Regions from separate parts of the Homo sapiens genome. Here region 2 is linked to region 1. Evidence: promoter capture Hi-C in 16 types of primary human blood cells and fetal thymus (Javierre and others, 2016). All regions are on one chromosome and are shown on one strand. Each heading gives the region's core, a stretch centred on a gene start or on the middle of the fragment in contact. The rest is flanking DNA. Distances are from core to core; before and after follow the strand shown.

Region 1 (4,657 bases), core at 1,009-3,508:
CCCTCACCTCCCGAGCGGCTGGCCGGGCGGGGGGCTGATTCCCCCACCTCCCTTCCGGACGGGGCGGCTGGCCAGGCGGGGAGCTGACCCCCCCATCTCCCTCCCGGACGGGGTGGCTGCCGGGCGGAGACGCTCCTCACTTCCCAGACGGGGTGGCTGCCGGGCGGAGGGGCTCCTCACTTCTCAGACGGGGCGGCTGCTGGGCGGAGGGGCTCCTCACTTCTCAGACAGGGCGGTTGCCAGGCAGAGGGTCTCCTCACTTCTCAGACGGGGCGGCCGGGGAGAGACGCTCTTCACATCCCGGACGGGGCGACAGGGCAGAGGCGCTCCCCACATCTCAGACGATGGGCAGCCGGGCAGAGACGCTCCTCACTTCCTAGATGGGATGGCGGCCGGGAAGAGGTGCTCCTCACTTCCTAGATGGGATGGCGGCTGGGCAGAGACGCTCCTCACTTTCCAGACTGGGCAGCCAGGCAGAGGGGCTCCTCACATCCCAGACGATGGGCGGCCAGGCAGAGACGCTCCTCACTTCCCAGACGGGGTGGCGGCCGGGCAGAGGCTGCAATCTCGGCACTTTGGGAGGCCAAGGCAGGCTGCTGGGAGGTGGATGTTGTAGCGAGCCGAGATCACGCCACTGCACTCCAGCCTGGGCACCATTGAGCACTGAGTGAAGGAGACTCCGTCTGCAATCCCGGCACCTCGGGAGGCCGAGGCTGGCGGATCACTCGCAGTTAGGAGCTGGAGACCAGCCTGGCCAACACAGCGAAACCCCGTCTCCACCCAAAAAATACGAAAACCAGTCAGGCGTGGCGGCATGCGCCTGCAATTGCAGGCACTCGGCAGGCTGAGGCAGGAGAATCAGGCAGGGAGGTTGCAGTGAGCCGAGATGGCAGCAGTACAGTCCAGCTTCGGCTCGGCATCAGAGGGAGACCGTGGAAAGAGGGGAGAGGGAGAGGGAGAGCGAGAGCGGAGGCTCGTCTTCTACTTTCAGCGCCATGGCACCAACTGGAGGCCTAGGGTCAAGGTCTGCTCATTTCTTGGTCCAGCTATGCAGCCCCTCTAGCCCTGGGAGGTTATTGGGAGAGTGGAGAGGTGTTGATGAGAGGATCCTGGCATGTGGAAAGACAGGGTGGAAGAAATCCTGGATGCCTCTGAGGTCCCAGGTTTCTAGTATACCCTCTGGCTGGACCATGGGGAGATAGGGCAAAAAAAGGAAGGAGGGGGGCCCACAGCCTGCTCTAGCTCTGCGCGGGGGCTTGGCTCAGCATGGGAGAGACCAGAGAGAGCAAGAGGCTGCATGAAGGAAGCACAGCCAGCTCACTATGGTCTAAGGAGAGAACAGGGATTGACCTCAGTTTTAACCACCATGCCCTTTGCTCTCCAGGGCTCTGGGGCCGGCCCAGGTCAGCCACTTGGTGGGATTCCAGCCTCAGGGTGGCTGAGCTGCAGGTGCAGCACCCGGCCTCCAGGTGGCACCAATCCGCTTACTTTGAGGTGGGCTCTGACAACCAGCTGAGCTGCCCACAGTCCCTCAGACTCCCGAGGTCCTGGGAGCAGGGATCAAGGTGGTCCCCAGGCCGTAAACCTGACAGAGGCTGCAGGAGTGCATTTCCACCCAGGGTGCACTCAGCGGGTGTAACTCCACACCCGTTTCTTTGGAGTCAAGGCCCGGCCTCTCAGTGAGGAGACTGCTCCTGGTTGCCCACCGTCGGGTCATCCCAGCCTGCAGTGGAACCCTCCGCAGCCTGGCCTCTTCCAGGGTAGCCCCTCACTCCCCTCTCTCCTGTCCTAGCAGACAGGCCAGGGAGGGTGGACGAGTTCCAGCTCTGGGGATGTCCCATCAGCTGTGTCACCTTGAACAAATCATTTTGCCTCTTGGGTCTCAGTTTCCTGCAGTGTGAAACGTGGTGGAGGCATGAGGGGCAATGGGAGCCCCAAGGCCTCTTTCAGAGACCTCCTCTGGGTCCCATGTGACCTCGTGGCTGTCCCCAAAGGCAAGAGGGTCCCCAGCCCTGCGGCCAAGGCCCTGGGACACCCTATCCAAACAAATGCAGGTCTCTGACGGGCTGAGCTTTGCTCGCTTGGGTTTCTTTGCTTTCTTCCTTTTTTTTTTTTCTTTCCTGGATGAAATTCCTGCCAGCTCCGAAGGAAGGAGGGAAGAGGAGCGAGCCGCAGTGTAGAAAGTTTCCTTGACTCCTCCTCCGGCTGGGTCTCCCTCCCTTGCCAAGCCCAGCCTGTGAAACTGAATAACGAAGATCACTCAACAATGCCTGCCCCTCTCTGACTGCACCGTCCCGGCGCTCCCACCGCCGCCGCCGCCGCCCAATAGAGCCCCTGGGGCGGTCCCCACCGACGGTGCAGCCCGCCGGGACCGGGAGGAAGCAGCTGCGGCCATCGCGCCGTGCGTCCGCGCCCGGCCGCCAGGTGCCCCAGTAGCCCGACCGCCGAGATGCCCAGCCCGCCGGGGCTCCGGGCGCTATGGCTTTGCGCCGCGCTGTGCGCTTCCCGGAGGGCCGGCGGCGCCCCCCAGCCCGGCCCGGGGCCCACCGCCTGCCCGGCCCCCTGCCACTGCCAGGAGGACGGCATCATGCTGTCTGCCGACTGCTCTGAGCTCGGGCTGTCCGCCGTTCCGGGGGACCTGGACCCCCTGACGGCTTACCTGTGAGTACTGCCCGCCTGTCCCCGCCTGGTCCTGCGGGCTGCTGGCTAGCGCCCAGTCCCGGCCTCAGCAGGGCACCTGCTTGCTTGGTGCCCTGGGGCATGGGCATCCCGGAGAGGGTTTGCCCCCTTCCAAGTTGACCGTTGCGGGACTGGGGAGGGGAGAAGAGTCTGAGACTAAATACCAGGCGAGCAGGGAGACCGGGCTTCCCTGACTTGGCTTCCCCATTGGCCTCCGTGCTTGTGGGCTGACTATGGGAGCCCAGGCTTGGCGAGGTGGGTTCTGGACCCTGAGCGGGAGGGCGCGGGGCTGGCTGCTCCATCTCCTGTTGCTGCATTCTCTTCTAGCAGAGCAGTGCCCGGGATGGTGGCTGAGGGTAAAGCTGACAGAACTGGAGGTGGAGGTGAGGGGAGCGTGCCCCAGTAGGGTGGAAATAATGTCTGTTCTTCTGCCATGGTGAGGACAACAGGGCTGTCACACTGAGGCTGGGTGGCCTTCGTGGGGGCGGGGGGGGCGGGTTTCCTAGAAGCTGGGAGGGGGGCCTTATCCACTCTTGTCTCCTCAGAAAGGGACTCTGCCAGCACCATCTCCCTTCACTGGGGCCTCCTGGCTCCCCCAGGGGCCTCCCTAAAGTCATGTCCCAAGAGGCTGTGTTGGAGACACTAATTTGTGGGCAGGCGCCGAGGCTGAAAACCAGAGAACCATTTTTAGCGTCTGAGTTGGGGTGAGATGGCGCGTGAAGGGGACCCTACTGGGGGCAGCTGTCCTGTCTGTCTGGCTCATGGGAGCTTCCCCTCAGAGCTGGAGGGCTGGGGGCTCTGGCTGCTCACCACCTGGGCAGGAGGAGGGTGAGAGAGCACATTCCAGGCCACCCACCTGCACCCCCAGCCCCGCTCTGGGGCAAGGAAACCTCCTCCAGCCCAGCTCTGCAGGCTCTATCAACTTCCTCAGAGGAGCTGGGAGCAGGTGGGAAAGCCTGGTGGGGCCTTCTGCTGAGGGCTAGGATCCCAGAGTTCCTTCTGGCCTGAGAGAGGCTCCTTATGGCTTTGGGGTTCCAGCACATGGGAGCTTAGAGGAAGAGGAGGCTGGGTGAATCTTTATAGGGGCCTAGCAAGAATTTGTGGAACTAAAGATGCTCAGTGTTGGGAGTGTCCTGGTGGGAGGTAGAGGGTCCCAGAGGGCAACTCTTCATGGGGCTCCTCTCCAAATGTCCCTGTCCCCAGGTTGGGATGTCCCCCTCCACTCCAAAAGGCACAGGCTGTGGGCCAGGTAAGGGAGTGGGAAGAGAAAAATAATGTCCATCTAGAAGGACAAATGGAATCCTTCACAGTGCAGTAGGTGACGGCAGAGGCAATCATGGGAATAAAGGTACCAACTGCACAGAGCCTGGGCGCTCAGCATCTGGCAAAGCAGGGCAGGCTCCGGCCCCACCCTACACACAGGCCAGCCCCTCTTTCAGCAGTTTTCTATCCTGGGAGTATGTGACATTGGTTCATTTGAAGACAGGGTCCTGTGGCTAAAGAGTTTAGATGTGACTTCTGTGGAGCCTTTCTCTGGGTGAGCTGAAGGAAGGTCCCTTGCCTGGGTTGAAGGGGCAGGGGAGATAAGGCCTTCCAGAGCTTCCTTTCCCAGCATTAAGTCTTCCTAGACTGGTTAATGACCCTTTTTCTAGAAGGACTTGGGGAAGGAGGTACACTGTCACCTTTGGAATTCAAGCATCCTACCATCCATGCTGGCAGAAGTTTTTCCCACTAGCTTGCCACAATTCCCTCGGAGCTGTGAAGTCTGCATTTGGGTTCAGTGGAGGTGGGGTTTTCTGAGCTGGTCTGTGTCTTCCTGGGGATTGAGAAAGCCCCTCTCTCTCAAGACTCAGGGGATGCTTCTGAGAGTTGTGGAGAGAAGAGAGGGAGTGGGAGCTATAAAGAGTATGATGGGTCCTGAGGCAATATGGGGAATTTAGCAGTGGGGTCTGGAATATTGGAAGGAGGTGGCAGAGGA
Region 2 (4,330 bases), core at 691-3,190, 140 kb after region 1:
TGATTTTGCTTACTATTGTAGCCTTAGCATGCCTGTCATAGTAAGGGATTTGACAAATATTTGCTGTTGTGAGGAAGTCTACATATGCTTTGTGAGAGCAAGAATGGTAGAGATAGTCAACATTCTCAGGTACAAACAAATGTTAAATGTCCGAGTTTCTCTCCATGTGCTATGGATTCCACCTTCTCCCAATCTTCAGGGATACCATTCCATCAATTATTCCATCTTTCTTACCCTCAATGTTCAAATATGCTCAAAGTCTCTCTCACCTAAAACCAACACCTACACACATATTCACCCAACACTCTTCTCAACTCTAGTTCTCTCTTTACTAACCAAGCAAAGGACACTAATCCCTTTTGTTTTTTAGACGGAGTCTCGGTCTGTTGCCCAGGCTGGAGTGCAGTGGTGCGATCTCGGCTCACTGCAACCTCAGCCTTCCGGGTTCAAGCAATTCTCTGCCTCAGCCTCCCGAGCAGCTGGCATTACAGACGCCCGCCACCACGCCCGGCTACTTTTTGTATTTTTAGTAGAGATGGGGTTTCACCATCTTGGCCAGGCTGGTCTTGAACTCCTGACCTCGTGATCCACCCACCTCAGCCTCCCAAAGTGCTAGGATTACAGGCGTGAGCCACCGCGCCCAGCCAACACCAATCCTTTAATGTGTTACAAATATCCCCCAGTTTGTGCTTATCTTTCCATGTTGTACATGGTGTCTTTCAATAAACACATACTCTTAACATAATCAATCTTAAAATCTCTTTCTTTACATTTATACTTTGTGTATTAAATTTTTCCTTACCCCCAAATGTAGAGATATTCCTACATAGCCTTCAAATATTTTATAATTTTGCTATTCAAATTTAAATATTGAATCCACTAGGAATTGAATTTTATGTATAGTGAGTGAGGTGGGGGTCCAATTTAAAGTTTTTCCCCATATGAATAGTCAATTGTTCTAACATCATTTACTGAATCAGTCCATCCTTTCCCTGCTGATATTACTATAAATTAAATTTCTATATGTGTGGATTTGTTTTGGGACTCTTGAATTTGTTCCACTGGTCAAGTGGATTATTTCTGAGACAATACTCCACTGTTTGAATTACTATAGCTTATTCATTTTTTATTATTTAAATTTTTTCCCAGCTTTACTGAGGTATAACTGGCAAATACAAATTGTATATATTTAAGGTGTACAATGTGATGTTTTACTATAGCTTATCCACCTGGTCTTTTTCTTCAGGAATGACTTGATTATTCTTGACTCTTTGCTCTTCCATATAAATTTGAGAATCAGTTCATAAGTCCATAAATATATACATAAATATGTATATCTGAAATTATAATCCAAATCATAACAGGGTTCTGTGGTTTGGATTGTAATTTTATTGATGCTATAGATCAATTTGGAGATAACTGATATCTTTATGATATTGAATCCTAAGATCCATGAACACGCTGTTTCAGTCTTTTTTTTGATGCTTTCCAAAGGTTTTATAATTTTCTCTATAAAGCTTTATCTAATTTTTGTTAGACTGATTTCTAAGTATTTATATTTTTGCTATCTTTTCAAAAACACTATTTTCTACCCATTTCTTACTGATACATGTAAATCTAATTGATTTTTTTTTATTTTTTTGAGATGGAGTTTTGCTCTTGTTGCCCAGGCTGGAGTGCAATGGTGTGCTCTTGGCTCACCGCAATCTCCACCTCCTGGGTTCAAGCGATTCTCCTGTCTCAGCCTCCTGAGTAGCTGGCGTTACAGGCATGCACCATTAGGCCCAGGTAATATTGTATTTTTTTAGTAAAGACAGGGTTTCTCCATGTTAGTGAGGCTGGTCTCGAACCACGGACCTCAGGTAATCCACCCATCTCAGCCTCTCAAAGTGCTGGGATTACAGGCATGAGCCACCTCGCCCAGCCAATCTAACTGATTTTTAACCAAAGCCTTAGTAATGCTAATGATGAATCTATTTGGGGTGGGGAGCAGTCTGGGAATGGTAATTCCACACTGCCAATCATGTCATCCACATATAATCAAGTTTATTTCTTCCCTTCTAATTCTTTTCCTGCCTTCTATTCTGACAGTAACTTCTAGTACAATGTTAAATGAAAAAGCTGATAGCTGGGCCAAGCATGCTGGCATGAGCCTGTAATCCCAGCTACTCAGGAGGCTAAGGTGGGAGGATGACCTGAGCCCGGGGAGACTGAGGCTGTAGTGAGCCATGATTGTGCCACTGCACTCCAGCCTGGGAGGCAGAGTGAGACCCTGTCTAAACAACAGCCAAAAAAAAAAAAGAAAAAAGAAAGAAAGAAAAGCTGATAGTTGGCATTCTTGTCAGATTTCTAACCTTAAAGGGAAAGCTTTTAACACTATGCTAATCAGTAAGACTGGCCTATAACTGTCCTTTCTAATTTTGTCTTTATTAGCTATCAAGGTTATGCTAGCCTCCTAAAATGAGTTAGGGAGTATTGCCTCCTTTTTTTTTTTTTTTTTTTTTTTAACATATTGTGGATTAGTCCAAGAGATAATTTGTTACTAGGTTGTCTGGAATAACTCCATCTGATCCTGGTGTTTTCATTTTGAGAAAATTTTAACCTACAAATCCAATTTACTTGAATCTTATTCAAGTTATTTATTCTTGCATCAATTTTGGCAAGTTAAATTTTTCCACAAATTTATCTATTACATGCAATTTTCAATTTATTTGTATAATGTTTTATCTTTTTAATCTGTAGTTATCTATGGTTATGTTTCCATTTTCATTTCTAACACTGTTTATCTGTGCCATCTTTTCTTTGATCAGTCTTGCTGGGCATGTATCAACCAAAAGGAAGTTCAAGTTTTGGTTCCACTGGAAAGAATAAAAATTTATGACAAAAATAGAAAATGAGAAAAAATACTTTTTTCTTAAAAATAAAGATTTTTTGCTGGAAGTGTTTTGTACTTCAAGATCACGCCACTGCACCCCAGCCTGGGCGATAGATTAGGACTCTGTCTCAAAAAAAAAAAAAAAAAAAAAAACATCTTCGTCCAAACACGTACTATACATTTTTTCTTGTCATTATTCCCTAAACAATACAGTGTAACAACAATTTACTTAGCATTTTATTAGGTATTATAAGTAATCAAGAAATAATTCAAAGTATATGGGGGTGGGGCTGGGCACGGTGGCTCACACCTGTAATTGCAGCACTTTGGGAGATCAAGGCAGAAGGATCACTTGAGGCCAGGGGTTCAAGACCAGCCTGTGCAACAAAGGAGAACCCCATCTCTAAAATAAATAAAGTATATGGGAGGACATGCAGAGGTTCAAGACCAGCTTGTGAGGCCTGGCACAGTGGCTCACGCCTGTAATCCCAGCACTTTGGGAGGCTGAGGCAGGTGGATCACTTGAGATCGGGAGTTCCAGACCAGCCTGGCCAACATGGGGAAATCCCCTCTCTACTAAAAATATAAAAATTAGCCAGCTGCGGGGGTGGAGGCCTGTAATCCCAGCTACTCAGGAGGCTGAGGCAGGAGAAAGGCTTGAACTCAGAAGGTGGAGGTTACAGTGGGCTGAGATCGCGCCACTGTACTCCAGCCTGGGCGACAGAGCAAGACTCTGTCTCAAAAACAAAACAAAACAAAACTGGCCAGGCATGGTGGCTCACACCTGTAATCCCAGCACTTTGGTAGGCCAAGGTGGGTGGGTCATTTGAGGTCAGGAGTTTGAGACCAGCCTGGCCAACATGAGGAAACCCCATCTCTATTAAAAATACAAAAATTAGCAAAGTGTGGTGGTGCACGCCTGTAATCCCAGCTACTTGGAAGGCTGAGGCAGGAGAATGGCTTCAACCAGGAAGGCGGAGGTTGCAGTGAGCCAAGATCGCGCCACTGCACTCCAGCCTGGGTGGCAGAGCGAGACCCTTTCTTAAAAAAAAAAAAAAGAAAAAAAGAACCAGCCTGTGCAACAAAGGATATCCCCATCTCTTAAATATAAAGTATATGGGAGGACATGCATAGGTTATATGCAAATACTACACCATTTTATATCTGGGACTTGACCTTTGGTGGATTTGGGATCTGCAGGATGTCCTGGAACCATCCCTCATGGATACAGAGGGTTGACTGTACAGTAAAAGTATCACAAGTATAAAGTATACCTTTATATAAAATGAGAACAGTGGAAAGCCATGGTAAAAGGATTAGAACAAGCAAGACAATTTCTCCCAAGGAAGCAACCAGACTCCAGCCTCACTATGTTAACCAAAATTGGCATATGCCATTCTTTGGCTCAAATGCCATGAATAACTGCCTATTTTTCAGGGTATAAAGGTTCTTTAC

What was found. Contacts are between HindIII fragments. The CHiCAGO score rates a contact against its expected background, and 5 or more counts as called.
Region 2: a contact is called between a fragment that was not itself captured here and the fragment with the promoter of LGR6 in region 1, in 4 of 17 cell types (megakaryocytes, total CD8 T cells, endothelial precursors and 1 more). The highest score is 8.0, in megakaryocytes.

The regions. Positions count from the first base shown.
Region 1 is chr1:202,191,541-202,196,197 of GRCh38, forward strand. LGR6 (leucine rich repeat containing G protein-coupled receptor 6) reads left to right here and starts at 2,259. Exons shown (of 18, transcript NM_001017403.2): 1 at 2,259-2,661. The coding sequence starts at 2,450. RefSeq lists enhancers at 845-1,648, 1,343-1,392. The HindIII fragment of the contact is 23,199 bases long and covers 1-4,657 here.
Region 2 is chr1:202,336,595-202,340,924 of GRCh38, forward strand. The region is part of intron 1 of UBE2T (ubiquitin conjugating enzyme E2 T); the gene reads right to left. Among named protein-coding and RNA genes, the nearest start is that of UBE2T, 3.2 kb to the right of the region's middle. RefSeq lists enhancers at 1-471, 472-995. The HindIII fragment of the contact is 850 bases long and covers 1,516-2,365 here.